Regions from separate parts of the Homo sapiens genome. Here region 2 is linked to region 1. Evidence: promoter capture Hi-C in 16 types of primary human blood cells and fetal thymus (Javierre and others, 2016). All regions are on one chromosome and are shown on one strand. Each heading gives the region's core, a stretch centred on a gene start or on the middle of the fragment in contact. The rest is flanking DNA. Distances are from core to core; before and after follow the strand shown.

Region 1 (6,922 bases), core at 856-3,355:
CAACATTCTTGACTACAGAGTAATTCCATTTCCTCTCTACTATCTATCTATGCTGTGGATAAAATATGGGCAATAACAGTACCAAGCTCATAGAGTTGTTGTAAGAATTAATTTATACAAGTATATTGACTTGAAACAATGTTTAGAATAGAGGAAAATCCTTATTATTGATAACATTTATTACTGTACAGGTTGTAGATAATCAAATGATATTTAAGTATGAGTAAATAAGTTACAACCAAACATTTTAAAATTTTCATCAGGGAAATTTTCATAAACATAAAATAGAATTATATTAAATAATTAACTACCATCTTTCCCAATAGTTTTCAAGATTTTGCCACACTGGTATCAAAAGGTGTCTCATGACCCTCTTTTCTATGGAATATTATAAGCCAAATACCAGATATCATAATTTCCCTTAAGGACATGTTTTTTAAAAGCTAAATCACAAAATAATGATGAATAAAATTATACATTAAGTACCTATTATCTGGGAGAAAATTAGGGAATATTATCAAATCTCTTTTCTCTGAATTATCTAATAATCTTAGGGAAAGGATTTTGGTCTCAAATATTTTGACAAATTTTGTTCATATTCACATATTTAGTCTCTAATAAAAGCCATAAGACCTGCAACTTACTAAAATAATCATAAAAAATCATTGTAGTTGAAAACTCTTCTATTGTTTCTAATTAAAAAACAATTTTAGTTGAAAATTCTTCTTTTGTTTCTAATTCTGAATCCTATAGTTTTAATAAGTATATCTATTATTTTATAATTGCTATATGCTGTCTACATATAGCAATTATACAATATAAATTATACAATTATAGCAATTATACAATATAAATTATACAATTTTATAATTGCTATATGCTGTCTACATAGCAAAAACACAAGACCCTGATTCATACACAGACACATACACATACATAGTAGGACCTACTAGATTTTAATGTTTTTGAGCCAAGCAGCATGGTTCCATATATCTCTCATAGTACCAGGTATACTGGTAAGGTAATCAGATAATATTATAAATTGAATGCTGAAGAATATATATATATAGTTGCTCATTATATATATATATATTTGTGTTTGTGTGTGTGTGTGTGTGTGTATTACATAAATACATACTGCTTCATGGCTTTTACTCATATTTTAACATCAGAATTATTTTGGGTAGTTCTAGACCTATGGATGCTGATCAGTTGACACTTGTCTTGTTAGTATTTGGTTCTTTCAATAAAGGATTATTTGCTCCTAATTCTTATTCAAAGTATTTTAAAATTTTTATAAATGAACACTATATTGTTCAATAAATAGCAAGTAGCAGTAAAATAATATAATACAGATTCATTTTGTTATTTTTGGAATCATATATGAATGTATCTAGATAGTTTCCAACACTATATTGAACTTTACAGGTTTTTCTAAAATTTATTTCCTTAAAATGCAATAGTTAATATTAAAATTACATATATATAAATATAGGAAAATTAAGTGCAAAAATGATGGTGAATATATTTCTCCAAAGACTTTTATTGGTGGATAATGAATTCTTTTCTAAATATATTTAAAATAATTTTTTTTTAATTTGTGTATTTTTAGTAGAGACGGGGTTTCGCCATGTTGGGCAGCCTGGTCTCGAATTCCTGACCTCAAGTGATCTGCCTGCCTTAGCCTCCCAAAGTGCTGGGATTAGAGGCATGAGCCACCAGGCCCAGCCCCTAAATACATTATTTTTTAATATAAGAGCAGATAAACAGTAGTTGAAATATTCTTTTAAAATTGTATGGATACACATAGAACCTAGCAATTTAAGATAGGAAACTAGGGCTGGAGCACCTGAAAGAGTTTCCATGTTAACAACAATTAAGCAGAAAATAAATGATTAACTTTATGGGTAATCAACTTAGCTTTCCATAAGTCATCAGCTTTTTCAAAAGATTACATTTCTTTCATTAGTTGGCTACTTTATGTGTCTTAAATCAACATACAACTGGGGATTAGGTTAATGGTTCTACTTATTTTGTGCAATAATTCTGCCTACTCACCTATGACTGATAACTAAGTATAAATACAGTATCTCAAGTCATGCTGTATCCAGATTTGCTTTTACATTTTCTTGCCTGAGTCTGAGGTGAACAGTGAACATATTTACATTTGATTTAACAGTGAACCTTAATTCTTTCTGGCTTCACAGTGAAACAAGTTTATGCAATCGATCAAATATTTTCATCCCTGAGGTTAACAATTACCATCAAAATGTTTTGTGGAGACTATGTGAGTATAATGCTTATTTCTGTAAAGCTTTTCACTCTTTTGAAACTTGATTTATAAAATTTCATTTGTGTTTTTTGACGTTTTTAACAGAAAATGTTGTTCTAATTTGTTTTTATTCTTACTACTTTCTTACTATTTTATGCCCATTTTTTGAAAGAAACATTTATAGAATATTTAAATTTTATTTCTGGGATTATTAAACATTACTATGATAACAAGATTTTTTTAATGCAATTATTTGCTATGCTTCTGAAGCAAATAAAGAAAACTGAAGATTAAAGATTTGGATTTGAGCATACCTAAGAATCCATTTAATTAGTGGGTCTTCAATATAACTATTAAACAGAGTTAATATTATGAAATCTTAAATCCATGCTAATTTTGAAACAACGTATTATCCCACAGAGGCAAGTTACTTTCATATGTAATTTGATTCAGAATTCTAACTGAAGTTATCATAAGATTTTTTATCTCGATATTTACTTCTATCTATAAAAAATTAAAATAATTTTGACTATTAATTTTATTTTAAATCCATGCTTTCTGTAAAAGATAGCTTATTTTTGAATAATTTTCTGTTGAATAGAAGCAATGTATAACAAGATTTAGTCTTTTTTTTGGCCTTGTCTGAATCATTTTAGTCCAACTGCTCTAATAGTCATTCACTTTTTAAAAAGCCAACATGAACATTAAGTTGTCTGAATATGCTTTATATGAAAAGGTCTCCATTTCACATGGTCTTGAAAATTATATACAAATGTGAATTTATGCCTTGTGGTCTTAGAAATTATATACAAGTATATGTGTGTTAATGATGATTCTTTACAAATCTATACTATAAAAAAACTTTCAGGAGACTGAGGCAAGAGAATGGCGTGAACCCGGGAGGCGGAGCTTGCAGTGAGCCGAGATCGCGCCACTGCACTCCAGCCTGGGCGACAGAGCGAGACTCCATCTCAAAAAACAAAAAACAACTTTCTGGGAACTTTTATGCAAAAAAATTATAACATAATTATTTTGTTAAACTTTGGCACACAAAACATTGTTTACTCATACAAAGTAATCAATGCAGGAAAATTTTACTTATATATTGTGTTTCTTAAGATAAATACTGAATTAGGACTTAAAAGGCAGCTATTTTCCATCACTGTTAGTTTAACAATCTTAATTTCATCTTAAGATTTCAAGATCTCATTTTGCAGTTGAAAGTTACCATTATTGTTTTATTAATTGTAAGGTGGTTATATTTCACTACAGAGAAAAAAAGGTATCAAGTAATTAGGCCAGCATGGTAAATGATTAAATTTGCAAATGCCTATTGTTTTCTCTCTCTGTTCATTTGAGTATAGTTATTTGGGAGTAATTACTATTATATTCTATGCATTGTGTGGTCTAATGTTACTATTTATATGCCCATTTTTCAAAAGAAACATATTTTATAGAATATTTAAATTATATTTCTGGGATTATTAAACATTACCAGGCTAACAAGATTTTTTTTAAATGCAATTATTTGCTATGCTTCTGAAGCAAATAAAGAAAACTGAAGATTAAAGATTTGGATTTGAGCATACCTAAGAATCCATTTTAAGTACTTTTGATTAGCTATTTTAGAGATGAATGTTATGTTTTATGTATAATCTCAGCAAGCCTGGATGGTAAAATGGTTTTACATAATCAATATCAGTATAGTTTAAAGTAATTTTCTATCTTAAGGTATATGACCCCAGTGGTCAGAATTTAGTGCTAAAAAGGCCAATATTTGAGGCCAAGCTTATCTCTTTAATCGGATGTTCTCAAGCAAGAGACTGGCTCTTCTGTTGACAAGTAATTTCTTATTTTATAATGTGGGTAGTAATTGACTGAGTTGTTTGTTAAAGATATGTCCCTAGATCCTCCTTATTTAGCAGTCCTGATGCAGTATATATAACATCTGAACTTATACACTTGATATAAAAGGGTTACCATTTTTGAGAACCACAGAGATAGGTAGTTCATTACTCTCAAAGTATAGAAAATTTAAATATACTTCAAGCAAGAGACAAGAATCATGGAAAAATGGTTACATTTCTGTAGGAGATAAACATACATAATATGTTAAAATTATTTTCTATATTTCTGGAGTTAGGCGGGCCCCAGTGATTAAGGTAGTTTAAGTGTGCTTGTTACATTAAGAAGGAAATTTATCTTTGGTGCACTAGTGTATTTTACTTATGTGCTTGACTGTAAGACCATCTTTCAAAAGCAAGGTTTAATTAAGAGATTATTGCAAGCCTGAGTTTTGATATATTAGTCAGATATAAATCACATCATAGGAAGATATTATTATAATATTATAATAGCTCTCTTAGAATGGAGGAAATTTTACTATACAGTGTACTTGCCCAAGTCAGGATCTAAACCCAGGTATCTCTACATCCCTAGAGCTCAAATTCTTTTTATTAATATATAATGTCTCTTTAGAATACACCTGCCTCTTTAGAATACAATTTTCTTGTAAAAATTGTTCGCTGATTTTGTCCTGTTTTGTCATCAGCTGATCCCCCTTGTTCATACAGTAGCATCTTATTTACTATAGATTCATTTCTTAGATGATACCCTTCCTTTTGACCTCTAATAGGATTAGAGTTAACTTTAATCCTATTCCCTTTTCTACCCTTTTGACACCTTTTCCTACTTCTATAATATTTATTGACTGACAGAAAATGTTAATCATAGCAGTATGAAAAGTAGGATACATGTTGATATCATATTTCTTACCTAAAATAGCATTATGTATTATACAAACATATAGAAATTATTATAATAATTTACTGTCTATATACATCATCCATACCTTGTTTAATTTAATCTTCACAGCAAATTGTCCTATAAGAATACCATTTAACATGCAAAGGTTTGAAGTTCTTTTGGAGGTACTAGATATTCTACCCAAATGTTTTATACATATTATTTTTGTGTTTGCAAACTTCTAGGACAGTATTATCATCCCCTTTTTCCAGATGAAAATACTAAGGTTCAGAAAAATTAAATACTTTTCCCAGGAGTTAAAAGCCAGTAGGTGACAGATACAGAGGATTCTGTGTAACTCCAAAATCATTTCTACCACACTGAGAGAAAAAAATGCCTAGGTATGATTATTTTTTGTGACCCCAATTAAATGAGAAAAACTTAGCAGCGGTATCTTTACAAAGATGCTTTGACTCATGAGTTTGCCTCAGAATAGCTCAAGAGCACGAAAGTCAGGCAACAGCATGTTAGGCAGTGTCTACTATGGGCAATGAGACATACAGCATTTTAGCCTAACTAGAATAAAAATAAATGCATTGGTTTTTAGCAGTGGATTACATGTAGTGAAGGAAAAGCACTCCATAAATCAGAAATGAATTCAGGGCATATTACCTAGGAGTGATTGCAGACTGACAAGACATCTCATGGGAGGAGAGGCTGTTGATAAGGCAAGATTATTTTCAAGACTGTCTTTTCCTATAGAAAGTAATTCCCAGGACAAAAACTTCCATCCAAGAAATCTGACTTTGATTGTTTATCTGCAGTATGACTTACTGAGCAAATATTATTAAAAGGTTATTCATACTTCAGATTGCTTTTCACTATCACAAGACTACATTGTCTGAACTTTACACACTTTGATTCAACAAAAGTTTTGAATCATGCTGTTATGGCTTCAACTTTTACTGAAACTTCTGTAGAACTAATAAGAGTTGGATTGGAAAAATTAAATTTAACTTTTTCCTTGAACTGGCATGCATGCTTGTTGTAAATTTTTAAAAATATACCATTATAACAACCATAGATTGGTTTTAATCTAGGGGCTGGGCAAACATCACTGTAGCGTAGTGGCTAAAGATACACTTAAATCTAGCCTTTCTGCATAGGATCCATGTGACTGAGCACTACTTGCTGAATCTTTCTGCACCTCAATTTTTTTTAACCTGTTAAGTGTGATAACAGCACCTATCTTATAAGGGTCTCTTGAGAATTGTTTGGCATATAAAGCACCAAGAAGAGTATCTGGAGCATAGAAGCATCCCAAAAAGATGAGCTATTATTCACAGTACCAGTGCCAAAGCTTGAATCCGACTCTGTCTAATTCAAAAGCCCTGGCCTTCAGCTGCCCAATGCACTGCTTCTAGAGGGGAGGTTAAGTTTGTATCCATTACTAATACAAATGCATATATATATATATATATGTATGTATATGTATATACAATACATACATAAGCATATATGTATGTGTATATATACAACAGTCCCAAATTTTATAAAGAAATTTGAGAAACAACAAAAGTTTCACAAGGGGAAATATATTTTCTGTTGTACTTAGCATAATGTTTATTTATAAGTAGATTGTATCATGCAAAAAAATTTCATAAACCCACTTACTTCAATTTCTGGTAACTTCTCTTCTTTATTATGGTAAAACTCCTCAAACTTGTATTACACCCATTATATACATTTCTTCTCCTTCAATTCTCTCCGTATCCATTCATTAGGTTTCTTTCTCAAATGCCCTGCCTGAACTGCTCTTATTAAAGTAAACAATGACCTTCATATGGTTAAATCCCATGCCTAATTCTCTCCTCTCATCTTGCTAGACATATGGGTGTTATTAGA
Region 2 (7,281 bases), core at 1,056-3,555, 1.9 Mb before region 1:
TAGAAAATGTTAATAGTATATCTACTGTTACTTCTGCATGTTATAGCGCTGACTTAAATTGGAAATTAGACTATGATTTCTTAAGTTATTTTCTAACTCTGTCCATTCCAATGACCTAGAAATGATGTGTAAATGGGATCCTTGGTATGCAAAATGTGAAATTTAAATTCTATTTATTGTTAAAAGACACCAAGAATTCTTGGAGAAATAGCTGATTTGAGTTGGAGACCTAGGCGGGAAATGGACAAGATGAAACTGGAACAACTTAGTATAGCAAACAATAAGGTAGCTATCAAAGATTATTAAGATCATCCCCAAAAAAAGAGACAACTTAGGAATCTTTATAAAGATGCATCTATTTCATCTTCCTAATTTTTTCCCTAATTATTCCTAATGACAAAAACCGCAATTACTTTTGCACCAACCTAATACTTTAATCGTATATTTTTTTCTGCTGTATGAACAAGGAGTTCCATGTTTTCATTTTTGTGCTAGCCTTGGAAACCACAACAACATATTGTTCCATTCCCCCCAAAAGTTTCATCACGTCCCTTTGCAGTTGATCTCCTCCTCTGTTCAACATCTGGCAAACATTGATTTGTTTTGCACCCATATGGTTTTGCCTTTTGCAGAAGGAATGAAATCACACAGTAGCTTTTTGAGCATAGCTTCTTTCACTCAGCATAATGCCTTTGAGATTGATAGACTACATATTGTTGCATTTATTAATAGTTCATTGCTTTCTATTGCTAAGCAGTCTTCCATCTTTTATCCATTCATCTGTTGGTGAATGATGATTTCTAGTTCTTGGTGATTATGAAAAACGTTGCTATACATGTGATTTCTTTTTCATTTTTTGATAAAAGATCAAACAAAACGGCCTGAGGATCTTAATCACTTACAGTGCTATATTATATACATTATATCCTGAAAAACATAAATGTCTATGTACAAAGGAAATATTATGTCGAAATATTGCCCCAAATATTACTGTCTTAAAAGTATATAGATTCTATTTTTCTATTTAATTTTGGGGATAAAAGATGGTAGGGTAAAATGAAGAAAAAAACTAAAGAACAAAATAAGAGTGAGATGAAGTACCTAATAAATATATACATCTATATTAATTTTACCCAAATAAGTATAAAATATGACATTTGTATGAATATGCTAATTTATTCAAGGGGCTGAAATATTATCACTTTCTAATTTTGTCTACTCTGTTCATTCTTCTACTGCGTATTTCTGTTTTGATTGAACTAATTATAGAATTATATATTACTGTTCTCAAAAAAATTGTTAGTGCCATGAGTACCAAGTCAGCAGCACCATAATTAAGAACTACTATTTGTTGGGTATGTAGTATGTGCTGCACAGCATACTTCGTGTTTTTCATTTATAGCATAGATCTGTAACAATACCTCATGGTAGGTTTTATTATCCCCATTTTATAAATGAAAAACTGAAGTATAATTAACTAAATCAATATAATTACTGCTGAGATCCAGTATTAAAATCCAGCCCCGTCTTTTTCCATGGCTAGCAAGTAGAAGTGTTGGATGTGAAACAAGAGTTATACAATATACTTAGATATGTAAGTAATTTAGCTTTTCCTTACAGTAATTTTTCGATATAAAAGCCAAAGAAATTTCCTTACTTTTTTTTTTCCAAGTTTATACTTCAACTCTCTTTGAAATCTAGAATAAAAAACAGACACACTGCCCTTTTTCTGTTTCACTGATATGATTTACAATTTATAGTAAGTGACTGGACACTAGGCTTACACAAAATTGTTTCCAAGTAAGGAACAATGTGACAAAGGTGTTACAAGCTCTGGCTCTCCTGGATTATGCTCAAATCCCACCTCTGGGCTTGTTAGTTGCACAACCTTGAACATTTTGTTTGAATCTTCAGTACTTCAGTGTGCCCTCAGGAAAATAAAAATAATGTTAATAAAACTAGCTCCTAGGCTTGTTGCGAGAATTAAATTAAATTATGTGAACAAAGCTTGTGGAAAAATGATATCCCATAGCAAAAATTCAATAAATGCTTAGTTATTATTCACACATGAGAATATACTAAGTATACTATCACTGTTTTAGATTTTTCTTCCATCAGATTTACTACATGAAAGTAAAATACGTAAAATCAATGCTAACTAATGTGCACAAATAATTATCTGAATGTACTATAAACAAAGACTTTGAAAACTGCAAGTCCTATCTACTTAACGAACACCTGGGTTGAGTGAACTAAATGGCCTCTATCAGAGACATCGATGACTTGCACTGAACTTTGATCTTGTCACTAAATGTCATTCATCACTGGCAATATTTCACACACCATTTGGATTTGCTTGACAAGCTATCTATCCTCATGGAAATCTACATCTTGCTCCTTTAGCTGCTCTCAGAGTAAGAGTGCTGTTACTTAACATATTATCATTCTTTCAAAACCTTGTATTCCTGGAGGTTATAAAAATAGGTAGGTGTCTGATTTAAAATTGAAAACGAAATGTGGAGCTGTTCTTACTTCCAGGCATAAAAATTACGATAGGCAATTTCCATTATTATTTGAACATAAAATTTCATTTCTTAAGGCTTTAAGCTTTTTTAAAAAAGTTTATTGCTGAATTTATTACTTTAGAGATAGAATTGCCCATTTTCTTTGTATTTGTCATCAAATACTATTAAGTAGTTAATTTTGTCAGAAAAGGTACCAGACATTGTTCAGCATAAATAAGGAGACTCAGCCTGAGCTCTTCATTAATTTCTTATTTAATTCTGTCAGCTCTCAGGTACTCAGATAGCACAAATTTCAAAACAGAAACTTTGGCATATAGGATTTAGCCATTATACTTCATTTTGTGTTTTGTGGTTAGTTTCATTTTAATGAGGTAGGCAAAGACGTTTCAGTGGATTTTTACAGAGAAAACTTGCACTTTGTACTTAAGAACACACAATTCAATCTATGTCTTTTTCTTGCCTTAAGCTCCATTTTAAAAACATCTCTGAGTTTGCTTGTGAATTGCACATAAATGTAAATTCAGTGCAGGTTTTTAAAGTTATGTTTCTCTTGAGTCCTAAAAACATATTTCACCTTAATTTTAACATTTTGGGTATTTTTAATCTCAAGATTTTATGCCCTTTGCAATTTGCATACTTTTAAGAATTTACTTCCCTACATCCCCACTTTAAACTTACTTAACACACATTTGCAAAGGGGTGGTTGCAAATGCCAAATGCACTCTATACTTGGAGTGTGTTTGTGTGTGTATGTGTGTGTATGTGTGTGTGAGAGAGAGAGAGAAAGAGAGAGAGAGAGAGAGAGATTTCCCTATCTTTGAAATTTTCTCAACATCTTCTTGCTCCTAAAATGTGGGCTAGGGGCTGGGTGCAGTGGCTCATGGCTGTAATCCCAACACTTTGCGAGGCTGAGGTGGGAGGATTGCTTGAGGCCAGGAGTTTAAGACCAGCCTGGGCAACACAGAACCTGTAAAAGTCAAAAAAAAATAAAAGAGAGAGAGAGAGAAAAGAAAAAGATAATGTGCTGTATAGGATGACCTGCCCAAGCTGTCTCTTGCCTAGTAGGCTGCTTATATCTTTAGCTGATTGTTCCAGGTGCTTATATACTGTCCCTCACTACATTACATTATTCTATGAAAGAATAAGTTAGATAGACCTCCGTCTTTGATTAAGACAATAAATACCTTCTTCCAAGGCTTCATTGGTAGAGCAGCAGCATCTTGTTCTTCTATTGTCAGGGTCATAATTATGATTTTTACTCACTTCCCTTGAAAGTTTCCTATTTTTGTGTCCCTTTCCCTTAAAAACACATCATCATTGTGTTTGTTTATATTTTAATAACAAGGGAAGGTCTCTGAAATAATGACTATTAGCATCTGTTCACAACAATATTTGTGCCAGATATTTGTTTTTAAAAAATGGAGCAAATGTATTAGGTAATATTTGTAGAGACACACTATACATCAAGGACTATCGTTAGGTGGTTCTTTTGATTCAGAGCCCTCTGTGCCTCGCCAAACAGGAGGAATTCTTTAATAGAACTTTTGTGAGCAATTGGTGATCACCTTCCAAATGTAATCTGATTCAGAATATAATAGTTATTCTGTTTAATTATCAGATTGTAACCATGGAAGACACATCTAAACTCAAAAAAGAGAAACGTCTGTGAGATCTGAGAATTACCTGTGTTCATTATGAAGAAGTAAATAAAATACAATGATTAAGAAAACATATACAACTTTCCCTACTACAGAGCAACTTCATGTATGTATTTGATTTCAGTACATAGTTCTCATTTGTCATTTTGTTTCTAGCTGCCTCAGTTAGGGTGGAAACTTGACTGTATAACTTTCCAAGGTAGTAGAGCTAAACATGGGGATTTAGGACTGTTTTGGGGGCAGGAAAGGAGAGTTCTGGTTCTCGAGTTTCCCTCTGGCACACTTAATGATATCCAGTGCAGGTATATACCTCAATAAAACCAGAGCCAGAGAAAATAAATGTAGACACGTTGTTCTTGAATCATACTAATTTTCTGTAGATGTCTCTAGGAAAATTTAAAATGGGTGAAATGGAAATCCCTGTATATCCAGACTATGCTTCCTCATGGCCTCATTTAAACGATAACCTGGCCAGTAGCTTCTTTCTGATGCCTTTCCTGAATAGTGACAGCAGACGAAGTTATTCAAATGCCTATTGAAGAGTTCTGGAGTATGCAGGAAAGCGCTGCTGTGGAATAATGCCTAGAAGGCAGGGTAAATTTCCACTTAAGGTCTTTTCCATAGCAAGTATTATTTTTAAGGCAGTGGAATTATTTGATCCTTTGAGGGAATAGAGTTTGCAGCTAGCTGAAGTGAGTAGATGAGTCCTCAGAGTTGGCATTTGTGGGCTGTTGTACTATTTTTTTTATTTTACTTTAGGTTTGGGATACATGTGCAGAACACGCAGGCTTGTTACATAGGTATACATGTGCCATGGTGGTTTGCTGCGCCTATCAACCTGTCATCTAGGTTTTTAGCCCTATAGGTATTAGGTATTTGTCCTAATGCTCTCTCTCCCCTTGCCCCCAACACCCGACAGGCCCAAGTGTGTGATGTTCCCCTCCCTGCGTCCATGTGTTCTGTATGTTTACTGCAGCGCTATTCACAATAGCAAAGACATGGAACCAACCCAAATGCCCATCGACGATAGACTGGATAAGAAAATGTGGCACATGTACACCATGGAATACTATGCAGACATAAAAAAGAATGAGTTCATGTCCTTTGCAGGTACCTGCATGAATCTGGAAGCCATCATTCTCAGCAAACTAACACAGGAACAGAAAACCAAACGCCACATGTTCTCACTCATAAGTGGGAGTCGAACAATGAGAACACATGTTGTACTATTTTAACTTCAGTAGCTTCAGCAGTTGGCATCTCACGGATGCCTACCACTCCAGGGATTTAAAATGAATGCTTATGTCACAATCTCTACCATGTTCTTAGCTTCTCTTTCTATTGTCCCAGTACTAGTTGTCTTCACTTGGTGGGTGCAAAAGTCTGAGCCCACATAAACTGACTATGGACATCTAGTTGCTTTTTTGTCAGCAGTAAACAGTTGTTTCAAACTCTTGTGTTTTTCAAGAATATAAACACTTTGTTAGATGATTCAGAGGTTGTGTCATGAATTGGCGCTGATTATTTTACTTGTCTACAAGGGGGTCTCTGCCTATTCCCTCAATGTGATACATGCTCTTCGTTAGAATGCATGTTTTTAAAGTAAAACACCCTCCCTGTCTTATAACTCATGAACGCTAGATGTCAGTATTGCTCTTTTTCTTCCAAACCAATGCCCTTAGTGAATGATGTCATAGCCTGCTCGGTCTTTCAGCAACGTTGTACACACAGAAAATTGTTCAGCTCAGAGTCTTTTACTGAAATAGTCGGAACCATATACTCTCTGGCTTTCTATGATATGGTTCACGTTGTTTTAAGGAAACATTATCATTTCTCTTCTGCAAAGAGCAGTATTTTTATGAAAAAATTAAAGGTAGAATCAAAATAATAGAAAAAAAATTATATTTGTCAAGGCCTTTTTAATAATAATGGTTTTATAAAATGCAGCTGCCACTAATCACTTTTGGATATAGCTAAATTGCAAACATCTCTGAGATCTTGATGGATGAATAGCAGAAGATATAATACAAGTAATAGCATTCAAGAAGGCAAACTATCAAATATTTTCAAAACTATATATAATTTGTTTATATTGTCTCATTTGAATTATGCATCTTTAAAAAGGTTGTTAGAAAGCAATATTTAAGCATTTTGTTTTTGCCAGGAAAAAAAATCAACAACAGAATATCTTGAGACAAAATCCTCCAAACACCTTTGTATCTAAAGCCACACGGTCATTGTCAGTTGGCAAACTCAGATATTTATATTAGCATATAAAATCTTCTTTAGGGGCTACATGTTACTCAGGGTTTTTACCGTCCACTTGCTTCTTTCAGAAAGTTTCATTTGGCACCCATTCATTCAGTCAGTCTTTATTTCATTCAGCAAATAGTTATTGAATACCTACTCTATGCTCTATGCTATATGGTGTTCTACACCTTGGGGCTACTGAACAAAAACTATATTATCATCTTCATGGAAATTACATTTAAAGGTAGCAGGCAGAGACTGACAAAAAATGATACAAGTAAATATATTATATAATTTCACAAATGTTAAGTTCCATTAAGAAGAACAATGCAGAGCCGGGCTTGGTGGCTCACGCCTGTAATCCCAACACTTTGGGAGGCCGAGGCGAGTGGATCACGAGGTCAGGAGATCGAGATCATCCTGGCTAACATGGCGAAACCCCGTCTTTACTAAAAATACAAAAAATTAGCCAGGCGTGGTGGCACGCGCCTGTAGTCCCAGCTACTCGGGAGGCTGAGACAGGAGAATGGTGTGAACCCAGAGCTTGCAATGAGCCGAGATCGTGCCACTGCACTCCAGCCTGGGTGACAGAGTGAGACTCTGTCTAAAAAACAAAGAAAAGAAAAGTAAAACAATGCAGAATTATGGGACATCAAATAGTATAATTGGGACATCACATAGTATAATTAGTTTCACAAGAGTAGTCCTGGAAGACATACATGTGAGGGTGACATTTATTTCTTCTTATTATTTTTTGAGAGGGAGTTTCACTCTTGTTGCCAGGCTGGAGTGCAATGGCGCGATCTCGGCTCACTGCGGGTTCTGCCTCCTGGGTTCAAGCAATTCTC

Evidence for each region. The method cuts DNA at HindIII sites, captures the fragments that hold promoters and counts their contacts. A CHiCAGO score of 5 or more calls a contact.
Region 2: a contact is called between a fragment that was not itself captured here and the fragment with the promoter of ANXA10 in region 1, in 1 of 17 cell types (M0 macrophages). The highest score is 5.1, in M0 macrophages.

The regions. Positions count from the first base shown.
Region 1 is chr4:168,090,432-168,097,353 of GRCh38, forward strand. ANXA10 (annexin A10) reads left to right here and starts at 2,106. Exons shown (of 12, transcript NM_007193.5): 1 at 2,106-2,287. The coding sequence starts at 2,270. It overlaps LOC124900170 (a long non-coding RNA gene), which reads left to right and starts at 2,306. Exons shown (of 2, transcript XR_007058357.1): 1 at 2,306-6,922. The HindIII fragment of the contact is 6,758 bases long and covers 1-2,312 here.
Region 2 is chr4:166,160,192-166,167,472 of GRCh38, forward strand. No RefSeq gene overlaps it. Among named protein-coding and RNA genes, the nearest start is that of TLL1, 290 kb to the left of the region's middle. RefSeq lists an enhancer at 5,646-5,940. The HindIII fragment of the contact is 600 bases long and covers 2,006-2,605 here.